Linked DNA regions of Homo sapiens: all the other regions are linked to region 6. Evidence: promoter capture Hi-C in 16 types of primary human blood cells and fetal thymus (Javierre and others, 2016). All regions are on one chromosome and are shown on one strand. Each heading gives the region's core, a stretch centred on a gene start or on the middle of the fragment in contact. The rest is flanking DNA. Distances are from core to core; before and after follow the strand shown.

What was found. The method cuts DNA at HindIII sites, captures the fragments that hold promoters and counts their contacts. A CHiCAGO score of 5 or more calls a contact.
Region 1: a contact is called between a fragment that was not itself captured here and the fragment with the promoter of RNFT2 in region 6, in 1 of 17 cell types (monocytes). The highest score is 5.5, in monocytes.
Region 2: a contact is called between a fragment that was not itself captured here and the fragment with the promoter of RNFT2 in region 6, in 1 of 17 cell types (total CD4 T cells). The highest score is 5.2, in total CD4 T cells.
Region 3: a contact is called between a fragment that was not itself captured here and the fragment with the promoter of RNFT2 in region 6, in 1 of 17 cell types (monocytes). The highest score is 6.9, in monocytes.
Region 4: a fragment that was not itself captured here is called in contact with the fragment with the promoter of RNFT2 in region 6 in 1 of 17 cell types (naive CD4 T cells); the score reaches 7.7 in naive CD4 T cells.
Region 5: a contact is called between a fragment that was not itself captured here and the fragment with the promoter of RNFT2 in region 6, in 1 of 17 cell types (monocytes). The highest score is 5.2, in monocytes.
Region 7: a fragment that was not itself captured here is called in contact with the fragment with the promoter of RNFT2 in region 6 in 1 of 17 cell types (monocytes); the score reaches 5.8 in monocytes.

Annotation. Positions count from the first base shown.
Region 1 is chr12:116,019,956-116,022,655 of GRCh38, reverse strand. MED13L (mediator complex subunit 13L) reads left to right here. Exons shown (of 31, transcript NM_015335.5): 5 at 55-200; 6 at 2,684-2,700. Among named protein-coding and RNA genes, the nearest start is that of MIR620, 130 kb to the left of the region's middle. The HindIII fragment of the contact is 1,700 bases long and covers 401-2,100 here.
Region 2 is chr12:116,059,754-116,062,453 of GRCh38, reverse strand. All of the region lies in intron 4 of MED13L (mediator complex subunit 13L), which reads left to right. Among named protein-coding and RNA genes, the nearest start is that of MIR620, 88 kb to the left of the region's middle. The HindIII fragment of the contact is 3,433 bases long and covers 1-2,700 here.
Region 3 is chr12:115,984,367-115,987,066 of GRCh38, reverse strand. It overlaps MED13L (mediator complex subunit 13L), which reads left to right. Exons shown (of 31, transcript NM_015335.5): 19 at 578-801; 20 at 2,695-2,700. Among named protein-coding and RNA genes, the nearest start is that of LINC02463, 99 kb to the right of the region's middle. The HindIII fragment of the contact is 3,827 bases long and covers 1-2,700 here.
Region 4 is chr12:116,002,296-116,004,995 of GRCh38, reverse strand. It overlaps MED13L (mediator complex subunit 13L), which reads left to right. Exons shown (of 31, transcript NM_015335.5): 14 at 1,894-1,993. Among named protein-coding and RNA genes, the nearest start is that of LINC02463, 120 kb to the right of the region's middle. The HindIII fragment of the contact is 782 bases long and covers 947-1,728 here.
Region 5 is chr12:116,091,038-116,093,737 of GRCh38, reverse strand. The region is part of intron 4 of MED13L (mediator complex subunit 13L); the gene reads left to right. Among named protein-coding and RNA genes, the nearest start is that of MIR620, 56 kb to the left of the region's middle. The HindIII fragment of the contact is 1,641 bases long and covers 553-2,193 here.
Region 6 is chr12:116,737,022-116,739,721 of GRCh38, reverse strand. RNFT2 (ring finger protein, transmembrane 2) reads right to left here and starts at 1,407. Exons shown (of 11, transcript NM_001382266.1): 1 at 1,352-1,407. It overlaps SPRING1 (SREBF pathway regulator in golgi 1), which reads left to right and starts at 1,653. Exons shown (of 5, transcript NM_024738.4): 1 at 1,653-1,932. The coding sequence starts at 1,822. RefSeq lists enhancers at 1,125-1,384, 2,153-2,700 and silencers at 1,575-1,834, 1,915-1,964. The HindIII fragment of the contact is 21,202 bases long and covers 1-2,700 here.
Region 7 is chr12:115,956,002-115,958,701 of GRCh38, reverse strand. It overlaps MED13L (mediator complex subunit 13L), which reads left to right. Exons shown (of 31, transcript NM_015335.5): 31 at 1-126. Among named protein-coding and RNA genes, the nearest start is that of LINC02463, 71 kb to the right of the region's middle. The HindIII fragment of the contact is 2,639 bases long and covers 130-2,700 here.

The DNA of each region.
Region 1 (2,700 bases), core at 1-2,500, 720 kb after region 6:
AGCACCCTTTCCTACCAAAATATAAAGTTGAGTTTCTCATTCTCTCTTTTGTAGTGAGCATTTGTCCTGTGCTTTCACATTCTTTCTGCATGGAGAAAGTAATGTATGCACAAGTGTGGAGATTGCCCAGCACCAGCCAATTTATTTGATCAATGAGGAGCATATACACATGGCTCAGTCTTCACCTGCACCATTTCAAGGTAAGTATGGGTGTTCCTGCTCTCCACCCCTATCCGCCACCGAGTGGATAACCATCTTGCCCAGTAAAGTTTTGCAGGGTGAGACCTTATCTTAAATGGACATTTTAAAGCTAAGCATAAGGGTCAGATTTTGAAGAAGGAAGAAAAGACTACCATTTCATAATTAAGTAGTAATAGTGTGTTAGTTTTTCGCTGAAGCTTATCGCATATATAAGATGGTCTTATGTGTATTCTTTTGTAAGAATAAAATGTAGAATTTCCTTCAGAACAAAAGAAAATCAATAAATACTTGAAAAATAGAATTCAATGAGTAATTGACCAAAGTCACAAATTAAAGGTTTTCATTGTTGTGTTTATTAACAAGGTTTTAGGAATGTAATGGTTTATAGAAGATAAACCAAATACTTAGTATTTGAAATTTCTATCAGAATCAAAGTTCTAGAATTATACAGTGTATAGTTTCTTCAGCGATGTTCCTAACTTTGTTTTAATTTTAAACTCCATTGGTAATAGGTATTTAGCTGTAATTTAAATGTAATTGATACATTCATATTTTCATTAATTCTCAGCTTTACCACCTATATATCACCAAAATAACTTCATGTCCTTTTGATCTGAGCATTACAAATCTTAGTTTTGTCTTTGGAATTCAGAATTTTCTGTGAGTAACAGCTTTTAAATGTTATAATATTAGATTGAACCGTATGGAAACAATCTTTTTTTGGTTCAGTCTAATATGTCATTATTAGAGATGACTGGTTGAAATAGTCTTAGCATATCACACAATATAATTTTAAAAAACACTGATATTTTAACAGACTTGACTAAAATATTATAATTGCTGTAAAAGCCTGTCATGAGCATTTAGCCTCCATTGTATTTATTTTTTGTTTTCTATAAACTATTCTGATTTAATTCAATGAAAGCATCTGTTTCTTGCCCCAAATATAATAAAACTACTAGAAAATTCAAAACCCAATTCTTAAACTGTACAGTACAAATTGTACAGTATTTGCAAATTATGGCTTATCAGAATTTTTAAAATACTGTTTTCTTGAGTGTAAAAGTGCTGAGGACCATCTGACTCCATCCAACATTTTATCACTCAGAATAAAAGCATTTAGTTATGGTAATAACAGAGGAATAAGTAGTCATGAGGGAAGAGAACTTATTTCTAATCTTCAATGTTGGGAACAATAATATTAGGAATACCAGGTCCCTATAGACCACTTTTAATTTTTCTGATTTTTGTCACTGATGGAAGTCATAGAATACTTTTGTGGAGCATTATTCTGCTTATTTTCCATGATTGGTGTGGAGGAAGACCATACTAAGGCAGTTGCTGTCCTTATGGATAATTATATTCATCATAATTATCCAAATTGATGTGGGAATTTCCTGGAAGCATTATTGCAAAAAAATTACCCTTGATTAACTGTGTTAGTTGGAGTCAGTATTTTTATCCCATTTGGATCATTGAGGAACAGCAGAAAGACTCAACGATACATGTGATGTCTATAACTGTCTCTCTCTTGATTGATGTGACATATGATCTAGCTCTTTAAAAAAATTAAAAAAAAGACATTCCGTTTAATGACCATGCTGAGTTTTTGTTAAAAATTAGAATTAAGAAAAAGTGGCCTTTATCTTCAGAAACGTATTATTTGGAAGATTGAAGTACTCACTTCAAGGCTATGAACTGGCTGGGTAATTCACAGTACTATATTAACTATATTTTTGTGTCTGACTCAGTGAAAATGCCATCAAGGTCAAATACTGAAAGAAGATAGAGGACTTTGGGTCCTTTACTTTGAGTTAAATCAAATTTTACTTAGAGTTGTTTTATCAACAGACCTCTAAAACAGTCAAAACAGAAACGATAACTATTATGCTTCAAGCTTTTGTACATTAAAACTTTCCCACTGTTAGAAATTTCATTTATATGTTATTCTTTGATTACCACAGATGTTTAGGGAGTCTCAGGAACCACAAGAGTGTTCAAGTTTTAGGCAGCATTTGCGGTCTCCATGTTGAATGATTTTCTTCTGTTTTGAGAGAGTCAGTGTTTACATTGTACAGGCTATTATTAAACAGATATGTATATGCTTCAAAGCATAGCTGTCTGATAACATTGTACTATCCATATTTTATTTCGTTTAAAAATTGTGGGAGGTGAGAGGTGTATAAATAATAAGAAATTTTAAAACAAGAAACTTCAAAATATCATACTTTTGTGGCTAAGGCGGGAGCATCACTTGAGCCTGGGAGTTCAAGACCAGCCTGAGCAACATAGTGAGACCCAGTCTCTACAAAAATAATTTTTAAAAAAATTTCTTTTAAATCATACTTTAAATAGAGTTAGGAAATAAAGAACAATGCACATTAAGTGATACTGTAACCTAAAATTACCACATATGTAGTGTTGCACTTAAGTAGGAATTATTTCTCTAATGTTTAGCATGTATTTCTCCTCCCCTCCATAGTACTGGTAAGTCCTTAT
Region 2 (2,700 bases), core at 119-2,618, 680 kb after region 6:
TTCCTATGAAGGTAATATTGTTCAATAGAAAACCAATAGAGGGAGGTTGAGGTGGGCAGATTGCTTGAGCTCAGGTGTTCGAGACAAGCCTGGCCAACATGGTGAAACACTGTCTCTACCAAAAATACAAAATATTAGCTGGTCTTGGTGATTCATGCCTATGGTCCCAGCTACTCTGTAGGTTGAGGTGGAAGGATCACTTGAGCCTGGGAGGTGGAGGTTGCAGTGAGCTGAGATTGCTCCACTGCACTCCAGCCTGGGTGTCAGAGCAAAATCCCATCTCAAAAAAACAAAAAACTGCACTACAGGCATGCACCACCATACCCAGAAAAAAGAAAATCAATAGAAGAGAATTGATTCAAGGTATTAATGTTAGCATGTGACTGTAATAGTTCATAATTTGGATTTCGGATAGAATTTTCCTTCCTTTTTTTTTTTTTTTTTTCGATGTGGAGTCTTGCTCTGTCTCCCAGGCTGGAGTGCAGCGGTGTGATCTCGGCTCACTGCAAGCTCTGCCTCCCGGGTTCACGCCATTCTCCTGCCTCAGCCTCCTGAGTAGCTGGGACTACAGGTGCCCGCCACCATGCCTGGCTAATTTTTTGTATTTTTAAGTAGAGATGTGGTTTCACTGTGTTAGCCAGGATGGTCTCGATCTCCTGACCTCATGATCAGCCTGCCTCGGCCTCCCAAAGTGCTGAGATTACAGGCGTGAGCCACTACGCCTGGCCTTGAATTTTCCTTTCTGATATGTTTTGTAACATGCTTATTTGAACTGTAAAATTTAAAATCTATTCCCAAACTCACATTAGGTAATTTGGGATGCGCATTGATGAAGGGATGATTTCATTCTGATTTGTGGTGGAGACTGTACTTAATTTTAGTAACTATCATGTCCTGAAGGTTATCACTTATTTTATCTTATTTTATGTTTATATATCTATGAGGTAGGCATTATTATCTTACTTTGTAGCATTGAAAACTGAAATACCGAGAAGTTAATTGACTTAAGGCAGCTTATAATAGGTAAGATGTAAACTCAGTTCTGCCTAATTGTATAACCCTCTGACATTGCCTTTCCTAGTGTTGAGAAATTGAGAATTTATTGTATACCTTAAAAATAAAAGATACATATTATTTGTAACTACTCTATATTTAAAAATAAAAATGCATCTGGATTTAAATACAACAATTTTATAATATGGAATTAAAAAAAACAGTTAATGTTTAGCTGTGAAAATAAACGAGTCTCATGACTTAAAAAAGAAAGTTAAATCTTGTCCTCTACCCACCCAGTTGCTTTAAAATAACTTAGAATGTTCTCAGTTAAAGATGAGAAAAGTAATCTATAGTCTTACTAAGTTAGTTTCCTGAGACCTCATATAGAAGCATTTAACTTAATGATCAGCTTGTTTATTGGCATGAGTGGAGTCTCAGAGATGGGAGGAGAAGAAGGCAGGAGATAGAAAATAAAAGAAGACACATATGCCCACATGCCATCATCTTGAGCTTTCAGTTTCTCATTTTAAAGATGATGCCATGTATGTGTCATAACTTCCTTCTCATCTCATTGCTTTCACTTCCATTTATCTTTAGTGAATTAATTTAGCAAAAGTCAAAGCTCCGTAAAGCAAGTATCTCGTGTGTGTGTGTGCTTAAGATAATAGTTGAACCTAAAATTTCCTTCCACAATACAGTCTAACAATTGGCATACATACTGTTGCTCTTAACATCTGAGACCTTAAAATATTTCTCCAATTTTTAATACTGTTTTTAACCCAAAGTAGTACTTTCAGTTAATTGTAATGTGAAAAAAGTGTACAGAATCATTGTCTTTATATTGTCTTTTGCAAATTTTTAGTTTTTTTTTTTTTTTTCCCTTGGAGTCTTGCTCTGTCGCCCAGGCTGGAGAGTTCAGTGGCATGATCTCGGCTCACTACAACCTCCACCTCCTGGGTTCAAGCAATATTCCTGCCTCAGCCTCCCGAGTAGCTGGGACTACAGGCACCCGCCACAGTGCCCGGCTAATTTTTTGTATGTTAATAGAGACGGGGTTTTACCGTGTTGCCCAGGCTGGTCTCAAACTCCTGACCTCAAGTGATCTGCCTGCCTCAGCCTCCCAAAGTGATAGTATTACCGGCGTGAGTTACCACGCCCGGCCTGTTTTTGTGAATTTTTCAAAATTAACTTTTTTTTTTTAATTTGAGGCTTATTAGAAATGTGTCTAATTCGAATAGAGTGGCAACTACTTGAGACAGTTTTAATGATCCAGAGAATGCTCCAGGCCCACAGAATGATGAGAGTGTCCTGGGCAGTGTTTTGTGATCCCTCCAGGAGCAATCTTGCGCTTAGTTTGCATTCCTCTCACAGTGTACACAGTCCAGCAGTGAAACTGCATACTGCACCTCTAGTATTAGAGGGTTTTTTTGCCCTGCAGTGTAGAAAAGACAAAGATTTTCCAAGCGTTTTCTTTAAGGGGTTCTATATCACAGTGATTTGTTTTGTTTCTTGTATATTTCAGTTTGTATTATGTAAAAAGTAATAGTGTATACATCAGATTTAAATAATAATTTAAAGCCTTTTTCTCCGTGCCTCCTTTATGTTTTTTACTCTTAATCCATTTTTCTTTTCCATCATTCTTCAAATATTAATTAAATTTAATAATTTATCTAAAAGCATATGTATTTAAAAATATATTTAAAA
Region 3 (2,700 bases), core at 25-2,524, 750 kb after region 6:
CTGTTCAGTGAAGAGCAGCGTTAGTTACTGTCAAGTCCTTGCGTCACTAACAAAATAGGGGAGTCTTTTTCTTTGACCATTTAGTTTTATAATCTCTTTGTTTTCCTAAAGTTACTTTTGGAGTCAAGTTTCCTACCACCCTTGGCATAATCCAGGTCAGTGAGGAAGCTAATCCCTAAAAAGTGCATTTTTTAGATTCTCCTCATTTTCCCAATCCTCACTGCATTTTCATCTGGATGGACTTCTGGGCCAGTTCTGTCTACTTCATCATAGTCAGAATCATAATGCTTATCTTGAAGGAAATGATGTAGTGCTGCTTGGAAAGTTAATTTTAACTTGTTCTAGTCTGCCCTCTGATCTTACTGAACCTTTATAAACAAATTCTGACTTACTTAATTAAGAGTCCTCATCAGTGACCATTTAATTAGATGATTTCAAAAATACTTTTAAGAATGTCTTGTGAACATGGAGTGACATTTCAGATGCCAGAATTAAGACCAGTGCACCAGGAATTTCAAAATTGTAAGGTTGTGGGAAAAACTCTCTAGCACCTTTCTACACTACAATGTCATTTTAGGTTCGGAAGAATCTCCTGAGCCGTTGCCCATCCCCACTCTGCTGGTAGGCTATGACAAGGATTTCCTCACCATCTCGCCATTCTCCTTGCCGTTTTGGGAGAGGCTCTTGTTGGACCCATATGGGGGCCACCGTGATGTTGCCTATATTGTGGTGTGTCCAGAAAATGAGGCCTTGCTCGAAGGAGCCAAAACTTTCTTCAGGGACTTGAGTGCTGTATACGAGGTGAGGAAGTTACTGTGAAAATTGCTTTTTATGACTTGGATCCTCTGATTGTTTATAGTGATGACTAAATTTCAAGACAAATGTCTTGAAAGTAAATCTCAGAGAAAATTTGCAAACAGGTGGATGAAGAAGAGAATTGAATTGGCCAATTTTTCTGGAAGCAAATTGCTTTCCCATCTTTGCTTTATATTTGTTAGATTTAGAAAACGTTCCCCTCCCATTCTTACCACACGTCTTAAAATCCCATCAGTTCTCTCTTCTCCATTTATGTGCTAAAAGTTGAAGAATATTGCTCACCAGGGGAAAGTGTGGCTATGTAGAAGATGAGCTTTACCAAAAGAGCACATCTACTCTTTGTATTTATTTACTGGATGGATTGAGGGACAGGGTGAGTAGGTGAGAGTTCCTGACAACAGTGTAAAAATGTGTCTTTTGCAAATTTCTGAATTGAAACATAAGTTTAATGAATAATGTCCCTGTTGTGTTTTAACATGACATCTTAATACTGAAACTTTGATACTGATTAAAAATATAATTCCTATAATAATGTAAAAACCAGGCAGATAATTTTACATCTTTAGTATATGAATTCCTGTTGCTTTAAAAAAAATAGAATCATGTCTGTCTTTGAAGAATAAGTGCCACATTTCTTATGCCAAAGTATATATGCACTAAGTTCTTTGTATCTGATACATCTAATGTCTTTGTATTCAGCAAAATGAAATTAATATCTGTAAAATATTTAGTACTATGATAGGCATGTAAACATTATGAAAGTGGTTTTTAAATAAGATTCCAAGCTGAATTGCAAAATATTCCAAAACAGGACATTCATGATCTATAAATGTATGAGTAGGCACGGAATAGTAAATTTACGTTGTTGCTACAAAGAAATGAGGAGATGCTAACATGATGTAATGACATCAATTAAGTCACTGCCTTGGATACATTCATTTCTGAACAGTGTCTGGTCAGGGCATATATAATACTATTAAATCATAATTAACAGAAAATTTGTGTAAGCAGTTTTAAAGCCCAGCCATTTCCTTGAATGGAACCTTCAACATAAGTTACAAAATGTAAAAAGCACTGCCAGATCTTTTTAAGAGGGTACAGACAGACACTCTTTTAAATTTTTCTTAATGACTTCACTAGGGTTGCTTATTCGGCAGTAATTGATACCTCCTTAGGAAGAGTATACACTAGAGGATTTTGTCGGGGCTTAGTAAGCCTTCACTTCATCTACTCTAGTAAGGGATAATAATACGGGCTCTCCTGCTGGTGAACAGGTAGTTTACTTTTTGCAGGTTTATTATATTCCCTGCCATAAGCACCCATTTAGCGTCATGGAGATTAATAGCAGAATCTCCTTGTCCTATTTACTTTAAAAAAAAAAAAGGCGATCAGCATACTCACTGCTTCAGTGGCCCCTGCTATTGGTGATCTCCAAATGTCTGTAACAGAACAGATGGCCCATAAAATTTTAATGTTATCTTATGGGAAAATATTATGAGTAGGGATTACTTAGGAGATTTTAGTGGGCATATGTCTCAGTTAGCAACAGTAGGCAGGAATCTGCTAATTCTTTGTCCGTTAGCAATCAGGTAGTGTTCAGCAGCCTCCTCTTGTACAGGAGGAATTGGCTTGAGTGAAGAAACATTTTTTTTTTTAGAGAGCCTAGTCCAAGTTTTAGAGAGACAGATAGCAATTTAAGGGTACATTACAATTACCTGAAAGGACCAACTTGTAATGTTGGTTTGATTGCATGTGATAACCCTAAAAGAAAAAGGAAAATGCTTCCATATGTATGTTAAAGAATCTCCCTTGCTAACCATTGGTACTGAATGAAGGAATGGCTCCTGTTATAACTAATGATCTTGTCTATGATATCAGATGTGT
Region 4 (2,700 bases), core at 88-2,587, 730 kb after region 6:
AGAAATGGCACATAAAGTTATAATGTACTTATTGCTGTGAGTACAATAATAGACCTGAATCTAAAGTTGCTGGACATTCAGATACGACGTGACCAAGTGATGGGGAGCAGTGTTTAAGTTAAGGCTTGAAAGTTAAGTAGGAAACATTTCTAAAGCCCAAACTTTAAAATAAAATGTATCTAACAGATATTATATACCATTACTGTTATAAGTACTTAGAAGATGAGGAGATCATAATGGTCTGGAAGAATGGATTGTACTTGAAATATGGAAAGAAGGGGTCATTGAGAGGAAGGGGGAGGGACATTAGTTTAAGTGTGGAATGAGCCTTGATTAAACAACAAAAACGAACTAGATTAGCTTTCAGGGATAAGGAACAGACCATTGGTCTGTTTTTTTGGATGATTAGAGACTGATAGGTCTAGGAAAGTTTTGGATTTTAAACTGTACTAATATGTGTTCCTCTGAGGGCTGCTGAGTATAGAACTGAACTGGCAGAAGGGCTATTTTTTTTTCCAGTCTGATATGCCGAAAGCAGGAATCCTCTAATCTGGTAACTTTTGTTGGATTGGAACACTAGAATCTGAATTTATACAGTGGCCACATGAAGGAAAAGGACATGAAAATGTGAAAAACTCTGGTAGAAGAAATGACTCATTTCTTCATTGCTGATCCAGGCATTGAATTTGACTATCCACTGGAGGCCAAGTGCTGCCTGGGTTTGGTTTTAAAGATACAGAGGGTTAGGATAGGTGCTTTGGCAATGGTGATGGGAATCCAATATGAAAAGAAAAGGAGGTACAAGTCAAAGGAGGAGAAAGAAAGGAACAGAGCAAGCATTTTGGAGTGGCCTGCCTGATCTGTTCATGACCACCATCCTGGTAATTGTTTCTGCTCTGGGCCACTGAACTTATTCTTTGTATAAATTATGAATTACTATTAAGCTTAATGAAGAAATGTTTAACTGTTGGGAATATACTTTTAGTAATATTAACATGAAAAGGAGAATTGGACATTTTCAATCAAATTTTCATTTCTCTGAGTGTTTTTGCTTTACTCTGATTTTTAGTCTGGCATTTAATCACATGAGCGGTTTACCTTAGAATATATTGCTAATTCATCTTACTACTCGTAAATGGAGTTGGGAGGCTGTTGGCTGAGTTGTCATCTCATGTGTCTTTGAATTTAATTTTAATTTTACATTTCAATGTTGTGACATTGTATAAGTATAAATAAATAAAAGGCCTTCTATTTGTAAAAATCATTTTTTGCTTTATTTTATATTTTATTTTAATTCATCACCAGTTCATTTAATGTTAAAGATAATCTTGCCCAGTAATGCACTTGGTTTGTTTTTGAATAACAGATCAGAGAAAAACCTTCTGAATATTTCAATAATTTTACACAATAAGGTTATTTTTGGTGAAGATAAATAGTAACTATAAAAATAGGTACAGAAGATACATAGTTTGTTGTGATAAATGCAAAAAAAAAAAAAGAATTGGAGGGCTTGAGATTATGCCTTTTAGCTGCTTGCTTCCAAGTATAAGGGAAACCAGACCAATTGTCAGTTACTACTGGAGGCACCACCCTAATGTAACACTGTGTCCCTGAAAATTGACTTGGGAGGGAAGAATTGCTTAAGGTCTGCAAGCTCTCCTTTGATGGCGCAATCTGCCCTCACAAGATCCATGAAAAAAATTCACTGTTTCTTACACTTGATAAGCTTGTAACCATCTCCTTTGTTTCACTATCTGTTGGTATTTCTAGAGGTTCACCTGGTAAACGCTTCTACCAAGAGGCATCTACCAATAGGCATACATTAGGAAATATTTGAATGCTGCCCTACTTATATACACGTCACTCTGTTTTAATAACACCGTCTGTTCTTAGGCTGTATCACCTGCTCTGCGCTCATCAAAAATGCCTGCAGTTGGGACAGAAGACCGACCTCTTGGGAAGGATGGAAGAGCTGCTGTTCCTTATCCACCAAGTAGGTAGAGAAACTTGACTGAGCCATTGTGGCTCACTGCCTGTAACTTAGATATAATATTCTCATACTTAGTGGTGCTTTATCTTTATCTGAAATTTCCCTTCCTTTTGACAGAATTCTAACTGTGAATTAAAACCTATATAAATTGGTGTTCTGAGATGGCAGGCAGCTAATCATATACAGAAACCATCTTAATTTGAATTCCTTTCCTTTGTTTTCCAGTTAAGAATTAGCTTTTTATAGCTTAAAATGTAGAAAAACATGTTTTAGGTTTGTTTTTCTAATAGTCCTTTCCTAGTAGAATAAATGCTGCACAAGTGATTTTTCAAACTGATACTCTATTATAAGACTGTGTAAAATGTTTCTGTTTTTATAAATATAATTCACTCAAGGATATTGGATATTTGATTTCAGTGGTCCTTTTCAAGATGCATACTAAAGTTTTTGTGTTTCCTTTTGAGATCAACTAGTTTTACCATATATGCTGACAAAGAGATGAACCTCTTTTTTTTGAGTATATTCTTTGCCCTAAGAAACCAAATTATTCTACAAGAGGAAAAAAAAGGGTAGCTTATGTGGATACTCTGAAGCAGAAACATAATTCCATTGCAAATCATTCTTTAACACCTTCTCATTAACTTCAGCTGGTAATGAGAACAAATTGAGGGGAAAAACCACCATGTCATAGGGATGAGTCAAAAAGCTTT
Region 5 (2,700 bases), core at 124-2,623, 650 kb after region 6:
TATAGTGTAATACTAGCATATAGTATCTATATATAATATCTATAATCTTAGCATATAGATAGTATATGCTAGGATTACTAGCATTACTGATTATTAGTATTACTAATTTCTCATACTGCATATTTTAGATATTCTAATCATGGTGAAAAAATACTGATGAATGAGTTCTCCCTGTTAGAATAATAGCATATGATTTTTTGTGCTATAATTTCTTTCTGTACTCCTTTAAAGTTCTTGTGCTATGATTTCATTTACTAATGGACTCCTAAAAGGGTTCTTAATATTTGATATGAGTTGATGTTCAGGAGAATTCTAAAGTAGATTATTTGCATATTATATATTAAAAATATGTATTTGATTAGGTAGTTTTAGAAACATAGAAATTCATTCAATATAATTTTTTCTCTATATTGACATCTTTTATTATTCATATCCTTGGGAAAAGAATAAGTAGAAAATACAACTTTGGGTTTGCCCTTGAGTGGTGACAACTAAAATCAAACATACAAAATTTCTGTTTTCTAAGGTCTAGGTTGAACTTGAAAAAAAGCTTTTGCATTCAGAATATGTTTTAAAACAAACCGGTGAAAATCATTTGGAAATTATTCCAATCATGCAGGTTCTCTCTCTTGGGAAGGCATTTGTTTTCTAATTTAATCTCAATCCACATTTTATTACAGGAGAATTTGAAATCTATACACTTTAGTCTTTGAATGTCATTTTTAGGAAACAGTTTATTGCCCTCAATAACAGTGGGCCTTTGATCTTTTCTGGTATCAGGTATACAGAAGCTAAGTTAACAAAAATAGTAACTTGCTAATTCATTTTCTGGGTTAATTTGCTGTCACTGACTCTTGGGCAAATCTACTCTGTTCTTGGGTGATACTCCAGAGAGCATCACATGTTTTCAGATATTCTAATTACTTTTGTATGTGCTGATAGCACATGTGCACACACCCCCCCCACCACACATATACCCATACACACTGAAAGTATATTACTTTAACTATCGTTTTTGTCTTCTCTCCTCTTAACTTCAGACTTTTTAAAACTTCTTTTTTATTTTCTTAGATTACCTAACATACATATTTAAGAAATGTAAATACGTTTTTTGGTTTAATAGCAAAGCGTGTATTTTGTGTAACAATACATTATTAACTCATACCAGAAATGTTTTGATGTAGGAGAACCATATTTAGTATTTTGAAACTTTCCCTTCCTTTCCTTATTTCATCCTCCCCTCCCCTTTATCTCCTCAAAGATAACAACCTGCTATTCCATTTTCTGAATTAATTAGCTATCACTGACTCATGGGCAAACCTGCCCTGTTCTTGAGTGGTACGCCTTCTCTCCATCCTCCTCTTTTTCCCCAGACTCTGTTATAGCCCAGTCATCTGTGTTATTTAGCTTTTAGAGATGCCCAGATAAGAAGGCGGAGAAGGGATCCCTAGTCTAGAAGGTGAGCAGACACTTCAAGTGTGAACGGTAAAGCAAGCCTCTTTTTAGTGTCCAGAAAAATGAGATCAGTAGCTATCTATGATTTTTTCTGTTTTACTCATAAATTTACTTTGCACATGTGGTGCCTATCTGTTAATAAGGGCTTGCTGATGGGAAGTCCATAGACAAATATTAATGGGACAATTTGGACTTACATAATCATGCATAATAGTTTTACAGCTTTTTTTTGGTAGCTCTATAAAACATTTACTCATTTTCTGAGAGTCTATCTGAGGGAGTTACAGTATTCTGCCATTTGAATATATTTGGGGATTGTGTGAAAAGTGAGTTAGAGTCTTGGGGATCATCAACATTTGTAGAATGGGTACAGAAACAAGAATACATAAAGGAGACTGAAGAGTCAACTGGAAATGAGAACCAAGAGAGACTGGTGTTACCAGAACCATGGAATTTTAAAGTTTCAAGATTGATCAGCTGTGTCTGCCATAGAGGCATGTAAAACATGTACTATAAAGACTATTAGATTTGGCAATTATGTAGTCATGGTGACTATAACATTGGCAGTTTCAAGTGGTGAAATTCAGATTGCAGTAGCTTGCATTATAAATGGGAGTTGAAGTGAAGATACTGAATGTAGAGCTTTTGCAGTAGTTTTTACAAGTAGCTGCAAAACACAAAACTGTTGATTCCAGGAAGGGAGCAGACAAACACTTAATAAGGGCTTGTGATAAAGCTTAATAGTGGTAGCTATAATTTTAAAAAGTATCTTTCGTGTACCAGGTACTTTGCTCTGTAGTTTCATAAACATATATAGGGGAATGTTAAATTGAAAGACCACTTCAGCCAGAGGTGATGATAGTTAAATACAGTATTTGCTTTCTATCCAACTCTTCTAGTTTTTCCTTTTTTTCTTAATAACTTAAAAGAAGTTATGACTGTTAGTTTTTATTTTTCATTTGTGCTATTAGTGGTCTAAACAGTATATGTCAACAATAATTATTGATTTTTACACTTTAAAGTAAAATATATTTAAATATGTGCTATTTTCAAGAAGGATTGAAAATACCTTATAGTAAAAGAGATACCTTGTTTTTTAAATTCTTTTTTATAGTAAAAGATATACCTTGTTTTTTAATTCTTTTTTTTTTTTTTTTTTTTTGAGACAGAGTTCCGCTCTGTCACCCAGGCTGGAGTGCACAGGTGCGATGTCAGCTCACTGCAATGTCCTCCAGGTTCAAGCAA
Region 6 (2,700 bases), core at 158-2,657:
TCCCACTCCTGTCCACCCACAGTGGCCCTTCTGTTCCTCTAATGTGTCAGCGTGTCCCTGCCTCAGGGCCTTTGCACTTGCTGTGCCCTCCCCTTGGAATACTTTCTCCTCTAAATGTGGCAGGGCTTGGTCCCGCAGGGCAAATGTCGTCTCTTCCCAGAGGCCTTCTCTTCTCATTCTCCTGACTCCCCGTAATATTGCCCTGTTTTATATTATTCATAGCACTTATTTGTTCATGTTTGCTTATTTATTTATGATTTGTCCTCCCCATTAGAATATAAATGCCATTCCTGAAAGTAGGGATCCTGTCTACTTGGATCACCCCTCTGCCTCAGCATCCAGGACACTGTTTGGCACAGAGTGGCGCTCAACAAGTATTTACTCAATGAATAAAACATCTATGGGTCTCCCAGTTCCCCTTTTCTAGATCCCTTGCTCCCTGTCCCACCTTTCACCCTAGCAAGGTAATAAGGGCCATCTACTTCCCATGAAAAGGTTTAGCCTCCGTGAATATCTTCTTGTCTCTGGAGGCAGAGCCAATATTGTGGATATAGGGTGTCTATATCAGTCAGATGGTGTCTGACTTCAGTTTAGGGCACGATTATTGGCTGTTGAATGACTTCCTAATCCTGACCAGGCTTCTTGAGGGGGCAGCAATGGTGTCACTAGGGCCACTGATTAAAAATGACCCGCCAGTGAAGCCTCCTTTCTCTTTTGAAAAATTAGGTAACAAACCGGTCAGCAGCAGCATCTTCATATATCAAGAAAAGGTCATTATATAAATATTTTTCAAGAATTTGCAATCTCAACTTAATCCTCCTCTCGCCCCTCCCTCCATTATCCCACATTGCAAATCCTTGGGGGAAAATAAAATTCATATTCCAAAGTTCTCATCCACACATTTAACTCCTAAATCGAATGCTCGAAACTCTACTTTCGGATGCTTGTATTGGAAGAGGCTTCGGATTCTTTGTCGGAAGCAGGCCGTACATAATTCTGGAATAAATTTTTGCACGCGGGATGCATCTGAATGAATGAAACGCTTTTTAATCCTCTGCTCTGTACATCCCACTATGTCCCTTTGAAGGACCGCACCGAGACTTTTCGATGCTTGCGATGGTTCAAGTTGCGCCCCTGGGGCCCGTTACAGGACTGCACCGAAATGCACTCAGAGGAGCATCGCCTGCATCACTTGGACTGGAAGCCGGCAGGTGCACTTCGGGAACAACGTCGCGAGCGCTTTTCATCCCTGCAACCAACACACAGCGCAAAACGCTCTGGGACTGCAAGGGCAGGAGACTACACAGACCATGATGGGAGAAAAGAAAAAAAAATCGCGTTCTCTTTTTACCTGCCCAGACAATTCAGCAATCACAGCCGCATCATTCAGGTCCAGCCAAGCCAATCACCCGCGCAGCCTGGGCAGCATGTGACTTCCGATGCTTCCGGCCTCCTATTGGGTGGTTTCTTGGCGTCGCCGGGTCCGGCGCTAGGACCCGGGCACAGCTACGCCCGCAGCACTCACGCGATTGTCCGCCCCCTTTCCCGGCACTTAACCAATAGGAGGCCGCCGTTCCTTAGGGACCAATGGTGAGAAGATCTTGCGCGACTAGCCCTTGTCGCTGCGGAGCGGAGGCGGGGCGTAGGGCGGGGTCACGTGGGGCTGCGCCCAAGGCTGCCGGGAGCAGACTGGGCTGCGGGCGGCGGGGCCGGCGCCTGCCTGGAGGGATGGGGCTGCCGGGCGCGTAGGGGCCATGCCGCCCGGGACCCGGGCCTGCCGCGTTCCGCGCCCCGGCCGCCGCGCCCCACGTCCGCGCCGGGATGGTGAACCTGGCGGCCATGGTGTGGCGCCGGCTTCTGCGGAAGAGGTGGGTGCTCGCCCTGGTCTTCGGGCTGTCGCTCGTCTACTTCCTCAGCAGCACCTTCAAGCAGGTCAGTGGCCGCCCTTCCCCTCCTCCCCTTCCCTTCTTCCTTCCTTCCTCCCCCTTACTTTACTTTCTCCTTCCTTCCTTCGTTACCTTCCTCCTTTTTTCCTTCCTCCCTGTCTTCCTACCCCTTCCCTTCCTTTCTTTCTCCCCTTCCCTTCCTTCCTCCTTCCTTCCCTTCTTCCTACCTCCCCTCCTTCCTTATCTTCCTCCTTCCTTCCCCTCTCCCTGCCTCCCTTCCTTCCTTACCTTCCTCACCTTCCTCCTCCTTCCTTCCTCCCCCTTTCCTTCCTCCCCCTTCCCTTTCTTCTTTCCTCCCCTTTTTCCTCTCCCTTCCCTTCCGTCTTTCTTCCTTCCCTTCCTCCTTCCGTCCTCCTCCTTTCTGTCCCCCTCTCCCTTCCTTCTTCCTTTACTCCCTTTCTTCCCTGACATCCTCTTTCCTCACTTCGTTCTTCCTCCTTCCTTCCCTTCCTCCTCTTTTTCCTTACTCCTCGCGTTTGTCCGACCTCCCGACTTCTGCAGCGGCGCCGCCGGGGCGTCCGAGGGTGGGGAGAGGTGCGCATTCCTGTCCCGGTCTCAGCACGGGTGAGGGACCTGCCCACCGCCTTGGTCCCTGCAGCGGGAAGGGGTTGCTAGGCCAGGGCAGAGCTGGGACTAGAACCCCGAGTTGAGGACCCTTCAGCGGTGGGGACTGCTTTTATGAACACCTCCCTGCTTTTCACCTGCCCGGTCCAGAGCTAAGAGAGGGCGTGCATTTGCTGGCTTCATCTTCGCA
Region 7 (2,700 bases), core at 200-2,699, 780 kb after region 6:
AGACTTTGATAAAAAGAAACAATAATAAAAGGCCTCCATTTTAAATGTCATTCATATATACCTTGTGGATGAGAGCTATATACTTTTACACACTTTTTTAGAGGAATAAATTATTGAATTACTGAAGCTTTGAGTGGCTTTTTTCCCTTCCTCTCCTGCCTTTGTATAAAATTATCTACACCTGTTTGAGAGGTGCATGTATATGTATTGAATAGCCCTAGATTAGTAGCCAGGCCTCTACCTTCCAGTCAGTGCAATGGATGTAGAATTTTACCACCCTGATCACCCCCCTAACAGCTGTTCTGAAATGGTATTCTCATGCTCCAGGGCACAAGTACACTCCCCCATCAGTTTTTACATGCTAACACACACAACACCGAATCAACTGCTGTGAGTCGATGAGCTCTAATGGTGTCTCTCAGCTGTAAGATTGTGGTCAATTCTAGCACAAATGACAAGTCTGTATCTTATATTCCACCGCCTTTCTCTACACAGTCTCAGCCAGTTTCTTTATGATGTCTCTTAGAAATGACAGATACATCTCTCTCTGCTGTTTTCCTGATTCACAGGCTGGTGACGGGAGTTTGGCATCTGATACACCACACGCAAGTCCCTGTTGGCTGCACACCATCTACCATGCTGTTCCCTTCTTGGGTCCATCAGCTAGGAAAAGCCACATGTTCTAGCAGGAGTTGCGAGGGTATATTTCGTATACTGCCCTTGCAAAATCTCTCATTAAAAATGGTTAAACCCCAGGACTTGGCAGAGCTTACAATAAACATTTGAATAATTGGAAAGGCCTTGCTTTTAATCTGCCTTCATCATTTTAGAAATATACGTTGTTCTGAACCTAACATTATCAGAATCCAGAGATAAAGCTATTGAGACAACTCAACCTTCTGTTACTTCATCTGCAAATGAGGGATGAGGATGATTGCATGAGAAATGCTTTGCAAACTAAAAGGCTTGTATCCATGTTACAGCTGCACTGTTGAAGAAAGACTGAGAAAAGTGAGGCCAACTTTTTGGTTAAAAAATAATAGTGATCTCATCCAGTTACTGCCTTACATATATAACTTTTATATAGTCCTGCAGCAGCTAAATAATCAGAACTAGGAGGTACTTTTACAAGCATTCAGTAGCTTCAATGCTTAGCTCATACGTTGGGTGGTACTATATTCAACAATTAGTGTTGGCTTTATAGTAGGAATGTCATTTTCATAAGTGCCCCCACCTGTACCAATTCAGCAACCGCAGCTAAATCTCTTTGAGGTAGGATAAATGAATGCATTTAAATGTCTTCCAAGTTAGATGTAGATAAGCCATCAGCCTTCAGCAGTTTGCATCACCCAGATTCTGCTCTTCACACCAGTTCATTCCCTCCAACCATGTGATTATGTAGTTTTTGGTTTTACTGTTCAGGAAGTCATGAGCAAAGGTATTTGTTACCAACTGGGCATCAAAGAACCACTAAAAATCTTTATAAAAGTACAGTTCGTCAATGAGTTTTTAAAAGCAAACCTCGTAAGACATACTGCAGAAGCATAAGCCACATATTGAAAACAGTCTTTGCCGCTTGTCATTTACAGTCAAGCCAGTATAAAAAGGAAATCGTGCTTTGGAATTCACCGCACGCCCAAATCCTATCAAGATGCAATTTTCACTTATTACCGTGTTATTTTGGTGTTAAACGATTCTCTTGTTTATATTCCCTTGACAAAAAGGTCACTTTAGCAGTAATTATTTCATGTCATTAATACCTAATGAGACACCACTAGAAAATTCTGTTGTGCCAGGTAATTATAGAGGGTTGTAATGTTTGCCCTGGGCATCCTGCTCTGCCTGGAACCAGATTTACCAGTCTTCCTCCACTTTGCTTACAATTCCAGGGTCACGTTTAAAAAAGATTTTTTGACACTTAACTGCTTCTAGCTAGAACGCTAAATCATGAAGCAGTTAAGAAATAGAAGTTGATGAGAAAGTTTAATCTCCAGGAAGAAGGTTGGACATAACCAAAGTATTGATTTTTCTCTGTAAAGGCTATTTCCTCAATGAATTCAAGTTCCCAGGTGATGGGAAGACCCGAAGACAGACATTCCTGTTAGTCCCACTTTTTCTTTGTTTTCTTTCAAACAAGCAGGGAAGTGAGGAAAGCACAGGTTCAGTTTTAATAATCTGCTAACATGGCACTTGTCTGGGCTGTTACCCATATGGGTCAAACCATGTCTGTCCTGGAGTGTGCTTGAAATTCACCCAGTGATCACAGCATGCAGACACGTTGAAATTGGCAGCATCTCTGAGCATTTCTCTGGCTCCTGCTGCCTAGTGTATACCTCTTTTGCCTTGCTGTTGGGTGAGGCATGTTTCAATCTACTTGTTTTATAAGACTAGACAATATTCAGTAAAATGGGCCACCCCAGAGCTTAGAACAGAAGCTCTGGGAAAAAAAATATCTAATACGAGGAAGTATTCGTTGTGGGGGAATGTCAATTTAAATAATTTAACATGTAAAATAGTAATTGTCTTAATTTAGGCTATAACGTTTTTCAGTAAGCATTTTCACGTTAGCTTCTCATAAATCTTAGTTTGTTCACTTAGAGGTCTTGATGTTCTTATTAATTTCGATACATTATTTACATATATAATTTCCTGTCTGCTTCCTTTGAAGTATGTGATTTTTTTTTTAATTGTAGAGGAGAC